Regions from separate parts of the Homo sapiens genome. Here region 2 is linked to region 1. The links are contacts of gene promoters, found by promoter capture Hi-C in blood cells and fetal thymus (Javierre and others, 2016). All regions are on one chromosome and are shown on one strand. The core of a region is centred on a gene start or on the middle of the fragment in contact, and the rest is flanking DNA. Distances in the headings are between cores, read along the strand shown. Region 1 holds the start of DCUN1D4 (defective in cullin neddylation 1 domain containing 4). Region 2 holds the start of SPATA18 (spermatogenesis associated 18).

Region 1 (6,010 bases), core at 509-3,008:
CGGTTTAGCCAATGGAGAAGGCGAGATGGGCGGGCTGGGAGTGCCCGGCGGCGGGTCCTCAGCTTCGAGCCGAGGTGCAGTGAGCTGGTGGGGGGACCGCGAGGCGAGCGCGGGAGCCTGGGCGGCGAGCCGGGTGTGAGCTGCCTGAAAATGCACTCGGATGCCGCCGCTGTCAGTGAGTAGCAGAGAGCCAGCCAGCGGGCCGGGGCCGGGCGGCTGCCAAACTCGCCACTCGGCTCCCGCAGTCCCCGCCCCACGCCTCGGGTCCCGAAACGCGCCGGGAGCCCCTGCCTGGGAACCACCCCTTCCCCTCCCGGGGCCGGGGCGGGCGGTGACGCTGCGGGCGGCGTGGGGCGGGGGCGGGCGTGGGGGGAAGGGACCGGCCTGCGGGGAGGGCGGAGGTGAGGGGGGTGGGGACTGGCTCTCTTTCAGTGTTGGGGGAAGGGAGGGCTGGACGTGCGATGAAGGGCCGAGATCGGAGTGTCCGGGGTGCATGGAGGTGGAGGCAGCGTTGGGCTGTAGCGGGCAGGGCCGGGGATGTGGGGGGGTGGCACCGGCGGGGAGAGGGAGGGAGCGAGCGAGCGAGCGGGGCACAAGGGTGAGGATTTCCAAAGGGCTGAGTGGTGCGGGCGGCTCCGTGAGAAAGGCGGGTGAGTGCGAGGGGGGCGCGGGGGCGGGGACAATGGGAAGAAGGGCTGGTTGGCGGGGGGGTGGGGGGGGGGCGGCGAACAATGGGGTGGGGGAATGGGGGCAGCGGCCGAGCGGGGCAGGAGGGCGGGCGACTGGACGAGGGCTGATGTAACGGGAAAGCGAGGTGGTGGGAGGGACTGGGGTGTAATGGTAGTTGGGGAGTCCTGCGGGGCGGGAGGGGCGTTGGAAGGGCGGTGGGTAACGGAGAGTGGTGGGAGTGGAAGATGTTGGGGTAAAGAGATGGGGCAGGTGTGGAAGGGTAGGGCGATTGGGAGGAAGAGGAGAAAAAGGTGGGTAGGATTTGGGGTGGCAGAGTGGGGGCAGGGGTGGAGAATATGAAATGGGGGTGAGGAGCTAGTCGGGGAGGAAGGGGAGGTGGGGCGGAGTTGGGCAGGAGGACTGTCACGTCCAGATTCGGTCCGGAGCCGGGCTAAGGGGGTGTCAGACTGTGCTTAGGGGAGGTACTTCCTCTCCCTGTCGAGGCAGGGTCCCTTGAAGGGGGGAGTCCAAGCTTCGGGGTGCGGAGAGAGGAGGGGGCGGGGCTGAGGTGGAGGAGACGGGGTAAGTGCCCTAAGGTTGGAACTGGCCGTGGTTCCCCCCGGACGGCGGGAAGCGAGGTCAGCGCTGGCGCGGGCTCCGGCAGCGGGACTAGGAGGCGGGGCAGGGGTGCGGGCTGCGGGGTTTCAGCAGCGGGAGCCGGAGGGGTCGGGCCCTGATGGCCGGGTCGGGGGCTTGGCGCCGGGGAGGTGTCGGGGTCCCTGGCAGTCCGTGGGTTTGATAGTCTGTGACGCAGTTGTCTAATTTCTGGCTATCAGGTGTGGGGGTTGGTGCCATGGAACCCGCTTCCTTAGAGGGATGGCCGGGCCCTAGGCCGCGCCCCACGCCCGGGGGGCGCGACTTCTCCCAGGCGTGCTGGGAGGGCGCTTGAGGGGTTTCCTTTAGGGTTTGTCTCCAGTCAACGGGTATGAAGGGGAAAGGCGGTCCCGCCGAATTCTGGGACTTGTAGTCGCGGCCGCGCCCGGCCGCGGTTGGGTTGGGTGCACGTGGGTAACTGTGGAAACGGGTCCCGGCATGCAGCGCGCCCTTGGAGCCTTCCTGCTCGGCCAACTCGTGCTTTATTCCCCGGCCAGCTCCTGCGCGCTCTCGGGAGGCGGTTGAGTTCCCAGGGACGGAGCGACTCCCCAGCCCTTCTCCCTTGGGAGAGGGAGAGCCCACGCCAGGCGCAGCCCTCTTCACGCTTAGGTTCTTGGTCCCCAAGTGAATTTCCCCCTGCATTTTGTGGCCTTACTTGTGGAATAAATGCTTGGTCTTGTACCATCATGCGCACGGGTTGTGGGAAAACATTTAAGAAGCAACACAATGTAAAGCAGCCTTTAGAATGGTGTATTTAATTTTGGCATCCAGTGTGTGTAAGCACTGGGTTCCAGCATTCCCTTGCATAAATATGAGAACACAGTGGAGGTACACGTAACCCTTGTAACGATAATATAAACTATGTGTTGGTATTTCTTGGGGTGTTTGAAAAAATAACTGTCTTGAAATGAGTGATGGAGGTGGGTTAGTGGAATTTAGGGTGGAAATGTGAAGGTGAGCAAAGGTAATATGTGACGTCTTCAATTTTCGAAGAAGCTTGGAAAGCAAATGAGAATAGAAGAAAACTGTAAAAAGTGGAGAACCATAAGACTTTTTTTGTTTGCTTGTTTTATTATTAGCTGCAGGCTGCAATTCCTTCTCTCCTTAATACTAGAAACCTTCCTCTCCATAAGTAGACTCCCTAAACGTCACATCCTTCACCAGTTCCCTTTACTGTTTACAGGGAAGGGACTCCAGAATCTGTAATGTAGAAGGCTAAGATTAATGCAGAGATGATAGATTTTTGTATGTAATATATAAGGTATTATGAAACTACTTGCAACATAGTCATTAGAAGAATATTGTAATTTTTCTGATGATAAAAATATTACCAAGAAGTCCTAAGATTTGTAAACCTTTTGGTGTGGTTACAAACATACTGAACTTGGATACTTGATTGTTTGATGGTTCTTTTCATGATGAGTGAAAAATTGGGCAATGTGTGTGGTGTTCTTGTGGAGATCATTTATATCTATCTGTCATATTTTACTTAATCGTGTGGTGAAATATCCAGGAAACTCTTGGTAATATAAAAATATGTACAAAAATGTGCACTTAACTCTGGAATTTTTTCTTGCAGAGGGTAAAGTGATGAGGTTGAAAAACATGCAAGAGCTATAATTGTCTTCAAAATGGTGTTTTTAAAGAAAATATGAAGCTAGTCATAGCTTTCTCTTTTTCTTTTGTTCTATTATATCCCAAAGGGCAGGTGCTTTTTATACACATATAGCCCACCTCCCTCCATTCCCCAAAGCCCTAGGCTCCTACACACTTTCTGCTCTGGTTTTTAGGTTCCTTTTTGATTTTTGGCGCTTGGGGAGGTCCTTTATTTTCTTGTGAACGTAGCTGTGCATTTAAACAGATGTTTCTTACACGTTATCCAGAATTTTTGACTGTTTTATATTAAGAAGGATTTTTAGGTAATCTTGTCTGTAACATTGCCAGAAAAGAAGGCCTGCCTCATTTTCTCTTAGTGGACTTCACTCTCTTCTTCCTCTGTTGTTAACTCTGTGTACCCCTACTGGCACTTAATCATGTTTTTTCAAACTTTATCATTGTCTCCTTTTCTGTTTTTATGTTAAGTTGCTCCCAGCAGCTCTTCTTGGCTTATTACCTTCTTCCTGGCTACGTTTACATTATTATCTCAATCATCATCTGCTAATTATAACTAATAATTAATAGCTAATAATCCTGCTAACTTAGCAGTATAAAAATCAACCTGTGAGAAACTGACCTCATGATGATCTCTTGTATCAGTTAGGATGCCTTTGCCAATACAATGCTCAAATTAATGGCTTAAATAATAGGGCTTATTATTGTTCGGTAGCAAGAAACCTAGAAGTAGTTGGTTCTAAAGCTGGTGCAGTGGCTTAATGATGTCATTAAGGATCTAGGTTCTGCATCTTTTTCTTCTTCTATTAGTGTTTTAGCTTTTATTCCTCAGGCTCATTTGCCTCATGTTTGCAGTATGGTTGCCGTAGCACCAGACATCATGCCTGGATTGGAAAGCAGGGAAGGAAGGTGCATATTTCCTTATAACTCCCTGTTAACAGAGAAGTCTTTTGCAGAAACTCACTTTGGAGAGTTCCATTTCAGTGTCATTGGATTGAACTGATCTCATGCCACTGCTAGCTGTGAGGAAGCCTGACACAGTGAATGTCTGGCATTTACCAGCATCTCTTGTAAGATATGGCCTTTCGTAGGGTGGAAGAAGGGTGAGAAGAATGCGCTGGGTTGGCAACTTGCAGGTTATATCCCTGAACCAGCTACTTTGGCCAGCTGTCTCTGGCTTGGTCTCAACCTTTACGTTGATTTATTTTCTGCCTTATTCTAAAAGAATTAGGGGTGACTTGCTAAATATAGATAAAACCCTGTCAAGAGAAGAAAAATTTATATATAGACTTGTAAGGTACACAGAAACACTTGCCATATGTTAGAAATATTTGGCACTGAGCTTTTTAATAGTCAAAGAAGAGAACAAAACTAATAAATTTTATTCATTTGGTAAATGAAGCTGCAGTAATTTTAATAACCCACACTGAAATCCTGGACATTTCTTATCCTCTTCTTCCCTGGTCAGTGGCAAGGAGAGATTGCATCTCTTCCCATGCCCAGCCTCTCTTTCCCATACCTATTGCCATGGCCTTATGTCTGAGACAGCCTTTCTTACAGTGTTATAATAACCAGCAATACATTTTTCTTTCTTTTTTGTTTTTTTTTTTTTAGAGGTTGGGTCTTGTTATGTTGCCTAGGCTGGACTCGAACTCTGGGCTTCAGGGGTCCTTCCACCTCAGTCTCTGAGTAGCTGAAGTTATAGATGCACGCCACTGCACCCGGCTCCAGCTGCCCTCAGTGCTGCTGTTTTAGAATTTTTCTTTACTGTGCTCCCTCTCTAGCAGACTCTCCTTTCATGGAATCTCTGAAGCAGTGCTTCCTTCTGTTACTCAGTTTTATGTTACATAACAATAGCTGCTTGTTTACTTTTATTTCCCCTCCCCAATTAGATTATTACCTTTTTGAGATCTGGGACCATGTCTTACCCAGTATCCACTTTAGCATCTAGCATGATGCCTTGCATAGCTACCCAAATATGTATTGAATTGAACTTAAATGATCAACTATTGAATAACTTGTGCATTATCTAGAAAAATTAATTCTTCCTGTTCCTGTTGTCTTTCATTATCTTTAGATTTTTCTTCAAGGAACACAAGCTTTCACCTACTCATTCTTTGCATTTTTTAGACAAAGTCAGTTGTATGCAAACTAATTTAATATTTTTCAAACATGCAGATATCAGTTTTAGAGAATGTGGCGTGGAGAAATTCTCAAGGAAAGAGTAAAATGCTGGTGATGTGCTGAGGGAACAGAAGGAGTGTTTGTGAATGTGCACACGTCCGTTTCTGGTCTCTCGTGTCAGCGTCCTACCTGCACAAGGTTAAGGCAGCATTAACAGGTCTGATGTTAAGGGGCCTAGAGTGTTTGTCCTTTTCCCTTCTTTTTGTTTTATATCCATATTCTGGTCCTAAGGATTTATTTCTTAAGTTAACAATATAGTGAGATCACTGAAAGTCTTTCTTCAGATTTACAGAGTAAAATTTTCTTTGATGAATCTGACATAAATGCTGGTAAATTTTTATAGTTGGTCAACTCGAATTGGTATTAATTCTTCTCATAGCTTGCTTTTTTTCTTTTGAAATTTACATTAGGAGAAGTACCTCTTGAGAAGTATTCTAAGCAGAACATGTATTTTAAAATGTGTTTTAAGAAGGAAAACATTGAAATGCATTCTAAATAGAATTAGGTATTTTAACAATCATTGTGTGACAGTTTTAGATGTAGCAAAGTATCTGCTACTTCAGGTTTGAATTGCTTTTAATCAGAAAATGCTGTTAATGAGTTATGTTCAATCTAGGAAGATAGGCTTGTCATTTGTAACTAATGTACTGAAAAAAACACTAGATATGAAAAAGACCCCTGCCCTCTTCAAATAGCATTACCTGTGGTATGATTTATTTTAGTTCTGCCTTCGAGGATTTTTTTTTCCTTGTGAAATTTTTTGCTGGCCTGTATCAGTAGATTTGCAGAGACGGGGAGTAATCCATTTGTGCTTCTCCCCCTGCCCCACGACCACAATTGTTGGCTTTTAACATATGTCATCTTAGGCCTCCTCCATATTAGTTTATGATTA
Region 2 (6,010 bases), core at 1,498-3,997, 210 kb after region 1:
AAAGCTCCCAAGGCTTGAGGCTTGTACTCTCTGAAGCCATGGCCAGAGCTCTACATTGGCCCCTTTCAGCCATGGCTGGAGTGGCTGGGACGCAGGGCATCAAGTCCCTAGGCTGCCCTGGAGACATGCCCTGGAGATATTTTCACCATTGTCTTGGGGATTAACATTTGGCTCCTTGTTACTTATGCAAATTTCTGTAGCCCGCTTGAATTTCTCCTCTGAAAATGGGATTTTCTTTTATATTGCGTTGTCAGGCTGCAAATTTTCTGAACTTTTATGCTCTGCTTCCCTTTCAAAATGGAATGCCTTTAACAGCACCCAAGTCACCTCTTGAATGCTTTGCTACTTAGAAATTTCTTCTGCCAGATAACCTAAATCATCTCTCTCAAGTTCAAAGTTCCACAAATCTCTAGGTCAGGGGCAAAATGCTGCCAGTCTCTTTGCTAAAACATAAAAAGAGTCACCTTTGCTCCAGTTCCCAACAAATTCCTCATTTCCATCCACCTCAGCCTGGATTTCATAGTCTATATCATTATCAGCATTTTGGTCAAAGCCATTTGACAAGACTCTAGGGAGTTCGAAACGTTCCTACATTTTCCTGTCTTCTTCAGAGTCCTCCAAACTGTTCCAACCTCTGCCTGTTACTCAGTTCCAGAAAGTTACTCAGTTCCTAAAGTGCTCCACATTTTTGGATATATTTTCAGTGGCGCTGCAATCCCCATAAGAATTTACTGTATTAGTTGGTTTACAAGCTGCTGAGACGGGGCAATTTACAAAAGAAAGAGGTTGAATGGACTTACAGTTCCACATGGCGAGGGAGGCCTCACAATCATGGTGGGAGGCAAGGAGGAGCAAGTAACATCTTATATGGGCGGCAGCAAGCTTGTGCAGGGAAAATTCCCTTTTTCAAAACCACCAGATCTTGTGAGACTTACTCACTATCACGAGAATAGTACAGGAAAGACCTGACTCCATGGTTCAATTACCTCTCACTGGACCCCTCCCACAACACGTGGAATCCAAGATGAGATTTTGGCAAGGACTCAGCCAAACCATGTTAGTAACTGTTTGGGGTAACTTTTTTCTGAATAAGTTTTCATACAAACAATTCATATTCATGATAGAAACTTGAAAAAATCAGAAAAATATAAAAGAGCAATTAAAATAACCCACAATTATACCTTGGGTTCACATTGTGTAATTTAACACAGTGTATACAATTTAGTGTTCTGCCTTTTTCGTTATAGTGAAAATTTGTAGATAGTATATATTCTACAACAACAAGATTTTTAGTGTGCAACATTTCATTATTTGCTTAACCATTACCCTATTGTTGGAGGTTTAGATTGTTTACAACTAGTTTTCTTTATTAAATATAAACATACTAATCCACATTCTTAATAATAGCAAATGTAGGCCAGTATTAGTTTATATTTAATAAACAGCAATTACTAGAGCAATTGCTACTGCATTTTGCCAAGCATTGTACTAAATACATGAATTATCTTACTAAGTTTCATAATAATCCTATGAGAGAATTATTTTCCTTTTACAGATGATGAAACCAAGGATTACAGGCTAATTAAGGTGCTCACAGCAAGGAAAAATCCTTTACCTCTAATTTATCTGACATAAATGTTCCAATATGGGTTTTTATGAATAAGTAAATGGGACTGTTCAAAGATTCCAAATGCCTGTAGAAATATGTAATTATTAGGTCCAAATTGAGAAATTTGAAGTTTTTCTCAATTCATTTTACATATATATATATATATATATATATATATATATGAAGTTGTTTAATGAATATTTAGCTGTTTTGTTGAGTGGGTATTTTTAACATTAGAAATTATTATTCTACTCCAATCAAATAACATGTTATACCCCTATAGTCCTTATTTTGTGGTCTACAGAAAATAGTAGGAACACAGGCTCCAAAACTGAGCCTTTCATTTTCATTAGCAGATAGTAAAGCCACTGTAATCAAGAGAAATAAAAAATGAGAGGTGGTGAAAATTCTTGATTTTACAATACTTGAATATATGCAGTGTTCACAGATTTTCAAGTACCTACAGAGATGAAACTAAGTTAAACTAGCTAGCTAACCAGCTGAGGCTCTGCTCCCCACCGCTGTTTTAATGAATGGATAGGAATGATTTATAATCAGCACATTTTTTGATGGTATATAAAAGAGCTTGCTTCGAAAGCGCTTAAAGATGGTCGAAATGGTTTCCTAAGTAGTTGAACCTGTTTCTGTAGCAGAATACACACTTTTGAAATAGTGCCAAACTAGGTCAAGAAAGTCCCAATTAGAGAATTCAGAATTAAATGAAGCTTTAGAGTGCTCAATGACTCTAAAAAAAAAAGTACTAAAATACATACTGCCAAATCTTATCCAAACCTGAGGGATTAACTTTAATTTGTGAACATCCTGGAGCTAAACTCTATTAACTTGGGTACCCACCCAGTGGGTCAAGGAACAAAGTAAAAGCTAGAAGTAAGAAGTACTGAAATTTTAGTTACAAGTTTCATACAGGTAAACCCAAGGCGCTACAAATGAAGAATTAAAGGAATGAAAGGCGAAAGAATAAAGGGGCCAAAGAGGTGATCTCCTGAGAGCCTAGCCCCAAACTTCTATAGAGACTTAACTTCTGCTTTTCTGGACACGCGTGGGCACCCAGAACCCCGAATGGGGAGGAATGCTGTAGACGCCCTGCTGCCCTCCAGCCCGCGCGGCTGCGCGTCTCAGTCCACCCCTGGGGCGCGCGGCTGTCACCCAGGGCGGGGCGGCGCGGGCGTTGCCACGACGCGGGCCGCGCGCGTCCCTGGCAGCCAACCCGTCCACGTCAAGGTTTGTTTAATAATCGCCAGGGTATCTATGGCCGGGCTCAGGCGGCTGCTGGGGAGCCAGGAGACCGCGCGGGACGGCGGATGAGGCGCGGCGGCTGCGGCCCAGGGCACCTCCCCTCTGGCTTCCCGAACCCGGCCAGGTCCGACCCGAGGGGGAGGATGGAAACACCTGCCGCGCTCTGAGCCCCCCAGAAGAGAACACCCTTCCCGCCATATCACCCCACGGTCCTGCGGAGGCCACCGCCTGGTCCCCCCAAGTCTCCATCGCGCAGCGTGGGGCCGAGAGGAATAGTGAGCGATGGCGGAAAACCTGAAAAGACTGGTCTCAAACGAAACTTTACGAACGTTGCAGGAAAAGCTAGACTTCTGGCTGAAGGAGTACAACGTGAGTCTGGGTGAAAAACCCCCGGGGTTCGCCCTCCCATAGGTTCCAGCACAGCCCTTGTCGGGGATTTCTTAGGGCTGGAGTTGGTGGCCACTTTGCAAAGCCTCCGCGGTTGCGATTCCTAACCAGGATCTCAGCTTTCGACCGGGATCGCTGGGGAAGGAAGGACATGTGTGTACATGCCCTTGTCTCAGAGCTTCGGGAGGCGGCGCGCAGGCGGCCTGCGGAGCGCAGCACTAGGCTGCGGAGACTGGAGAGTGCTTCCAATCAGTGGTAACTAAGGACGCCGGCGACCTAGCAATAGGGAAGCCCTGCTGTCCGCGGCTGGTCTGGTCATGCCTGCCACTCTTTCCCATCCCCCTTGCCAGCGCAATCCACACCGCCTGCTTCCCCAATCCCGAATTATTTTTTACTACAACCCTCTCCTGCCCAGGGTTTGTATCAGAATGGATTTGTATAAACACACACCCAGGAGTTATTTACCCAGAAATCAGCGAAACGGACACTTGTTAACGTTGCGGGTTTCACTTGCGTGCTGGTGGGCCTGGAAATTGAGGCACAGTTCCAACACCAGGGCGGATTCAGGCCTTTTTCCAGGCATTTGTGAGAAGCCAGTATTCTGTCACCAAACCCATGAGCACTTTTCAAATCTCATTAATCCCTACTCGCACCCTGCCTCCCCATAATTCCCCCCTTCCCCCAAATAGAACGGTGAGTGTTGAATTTGCTTTACATTCGGTCGGTCCGTCTTAAATAGGGATTTCCCCTCTTACATAATAAGTGGAGCGGCCAGGCAAAAGAACTGTGGACCGGAAATTAGCCCCCCCTTGTTTCTACATTTGGCTCTGCATAGAACTAGCTGAATGACGGAGTCAAATTATTTAACTTCTCTTGGTCTTAGTACCTCATCTGTGAAATAGCAGAGATTGGTCTAGATGATATGTAAATTTCCTGTTCAGATTTTAAGTTTTTGAGCCTAGATTAGCTTGTTTCTGAGATCCTGCCTGTTATGAGGTCCTTAGGCTTCCCCATTCACCCTTTAACCAGTGCTCCTGAAGTGGAGGGGAGCTCAAAGAGCAGCTACAGCTTTCTCCTTAGCCTTCCTTTCTAGTGCTTCCTGTTCAGTCCTTTGCTCCCTTTTAAAGAACAAGCGCTGACCATTCCTTCTCCATTAAGAATTCTGGAAAGTTAAAATGACCTCTTTATCATAAAAGACTTGGGTTCCCCCCAACTAATTTTAAAAGTACCTACTACTTAGTCTCAGGAGGTTGAGAATAAGAAATTCTAACATGTATACAGTATTTACCCCTTTTTTTTTGCCCAGTGGCCTAACTAAACTCTGAATTTTAAAAAAACATGTTGTTTGTCACAATGTTTATTACAAATAACACTAGGATTTGTCTGGAACTAATAAACAATTATTTTAGAAACTCCCTGTAAGTGATGAGAAGTGCCTTAGTTTATTACATTTTCCTGTCTTGATAACATCCCATTCTCTGCTCTCATTAAAACCATTTCCATCCAGCTGTTTTCCCTTCATCTCTCTACAGTAGAGGCTGCACTCACAGCCACCAGTGTTTTTCATACCTTGTGGCCACTCCCCAGGTTCCATCATTTCTCTTGAGTTTGCAGGCATCATTATCACATTGGAATGTTGACACCTGTATTCTTCCCCCTCCACTCCTGCTTCATCTGTTACAAGTATGCTGATGAATCTTATTTCTATAGGATGTGTTCCCATCTGAGCTCTCACTTCTCCAACTGCCCATTGGACATCTTTCAATAGTGAATGCTATTGAAATGCTCAGAATGCTCAAAGTCAAATCTGTCCAAAATGGAATTTAGCCTCTCCCATGCCCCAACCACAGGTCTCATTTTTCTAAGTCGTCTTCATCATTATATACTCCACTCCCTTTTCACCATCATAATCTGTTGGTTCTAACTTCAAAGTTCATACGGAATCTAAACACTTTTCACCACCCCCACTGCTACCACCCTTCTCCATCCTTGATCATCTTTCACCTGGATTATTACAAAAATAACAACCCAAAGAGATGCTTCTAAATGTCAAGTCAGATCAAGTTACTCTTTTTGCAAGACACTCCAAATTTCCTATTTCAGTCAGAAGAAGCCAAAGCTCCTACAGTGACCTTCAAAGTCCTACACAATTGTGCCCCTTTAAGCTCTTTAACCTTATCTGTTACTCTCTCCCTTGCTCAGCCCACTCCAGCAGTACCAGCTTTCTTGCTCGTCCTAGAGCAATGCTGTCCAATAGAACTTTCTATGATGATGGACAGGTTCTATATCTGCATTGTCCAATAAGGTGACTATTGGGCACTTGAAATGTGGCAAGTACACACTGAAGAACAGAATTTTTAATTTGACTTAAGTCCAATTTAAATTCAGATAGCCACATGCAGCTCATGGCTGCTGTCTCAGACAGCACAGTTCTAGAGATGTGGACATGCTTCTGCTTCAGGGCATTTGCACTCACTGTTTTCTCTGCCTGAAAAACTTTTCACCTGTTGATATTTGAGTGAGATAGTAACATCCTCACTTTCTTAGGAGAGCTTTATTTCTTAGAAAGGGTAGCAACCTGCAGGCTGGGAAGCAGGCCCCTGCTGAAACCAGAGGCAGGCACTTGGAGGTAGGAAAGGTAAGGCAGGAATTAATGATGAATGGGTTGGCCACATGTATACATATTCAACAGGTAATATTCACGAAGGGGGAACGCTCACAAGCATAGTAAGCAAACATGCATGTTACGTTCATCCT

What was found. Contacts are between HindIII fragments. The CHiCAGO score rates a contact against its expected background, and 5 or more counts as called.
Region 2: the fragment with the promoter of SPATA18 here is called in contact with a fragment that was not itself captured in region 1 in 3 of 17 cell types (monocytes, M0 macrophages and total B cells); the score reaches 8.6 in monocytes.

The regions. Positions count from the first base shown.
Region 1 is chr4:51,843,093-51,849,102 of GRCh38, forward strand. It overlaps DCUN1D4 (defective in cullin neddylation 1 domain containing 4), which reads left to right and starts at 61. Exons shown (of 11, transcript NM_001040402.3): 1 at 61-175. The coding sequence starts at 151. RefSeq lists silencers at 89-438, 539-618, 1,169-1,288. The HindIII fragment of the contact is 1,118 bases long and covers 1,200-2,317 here.
Region 2 is chr4:52,048,557-52,054,566 of GRCh38, forward strand. It overlaps SPATA18 (spermatogenesis associated 18), which reads left to right and starts at 2,748. Exons shown (of 13, transcript NM_145263.4): 1 at 2,748-3,235. The coding sequence starts at 3,149. RefSeq lists enhancers at 2,397-2,898, 2,899-3,398, 3,191-3,540 and a silencer at 2,721-3,020. The HindIII fragment of the contact is 3,697 bases long and covers 2,333-6,010 here.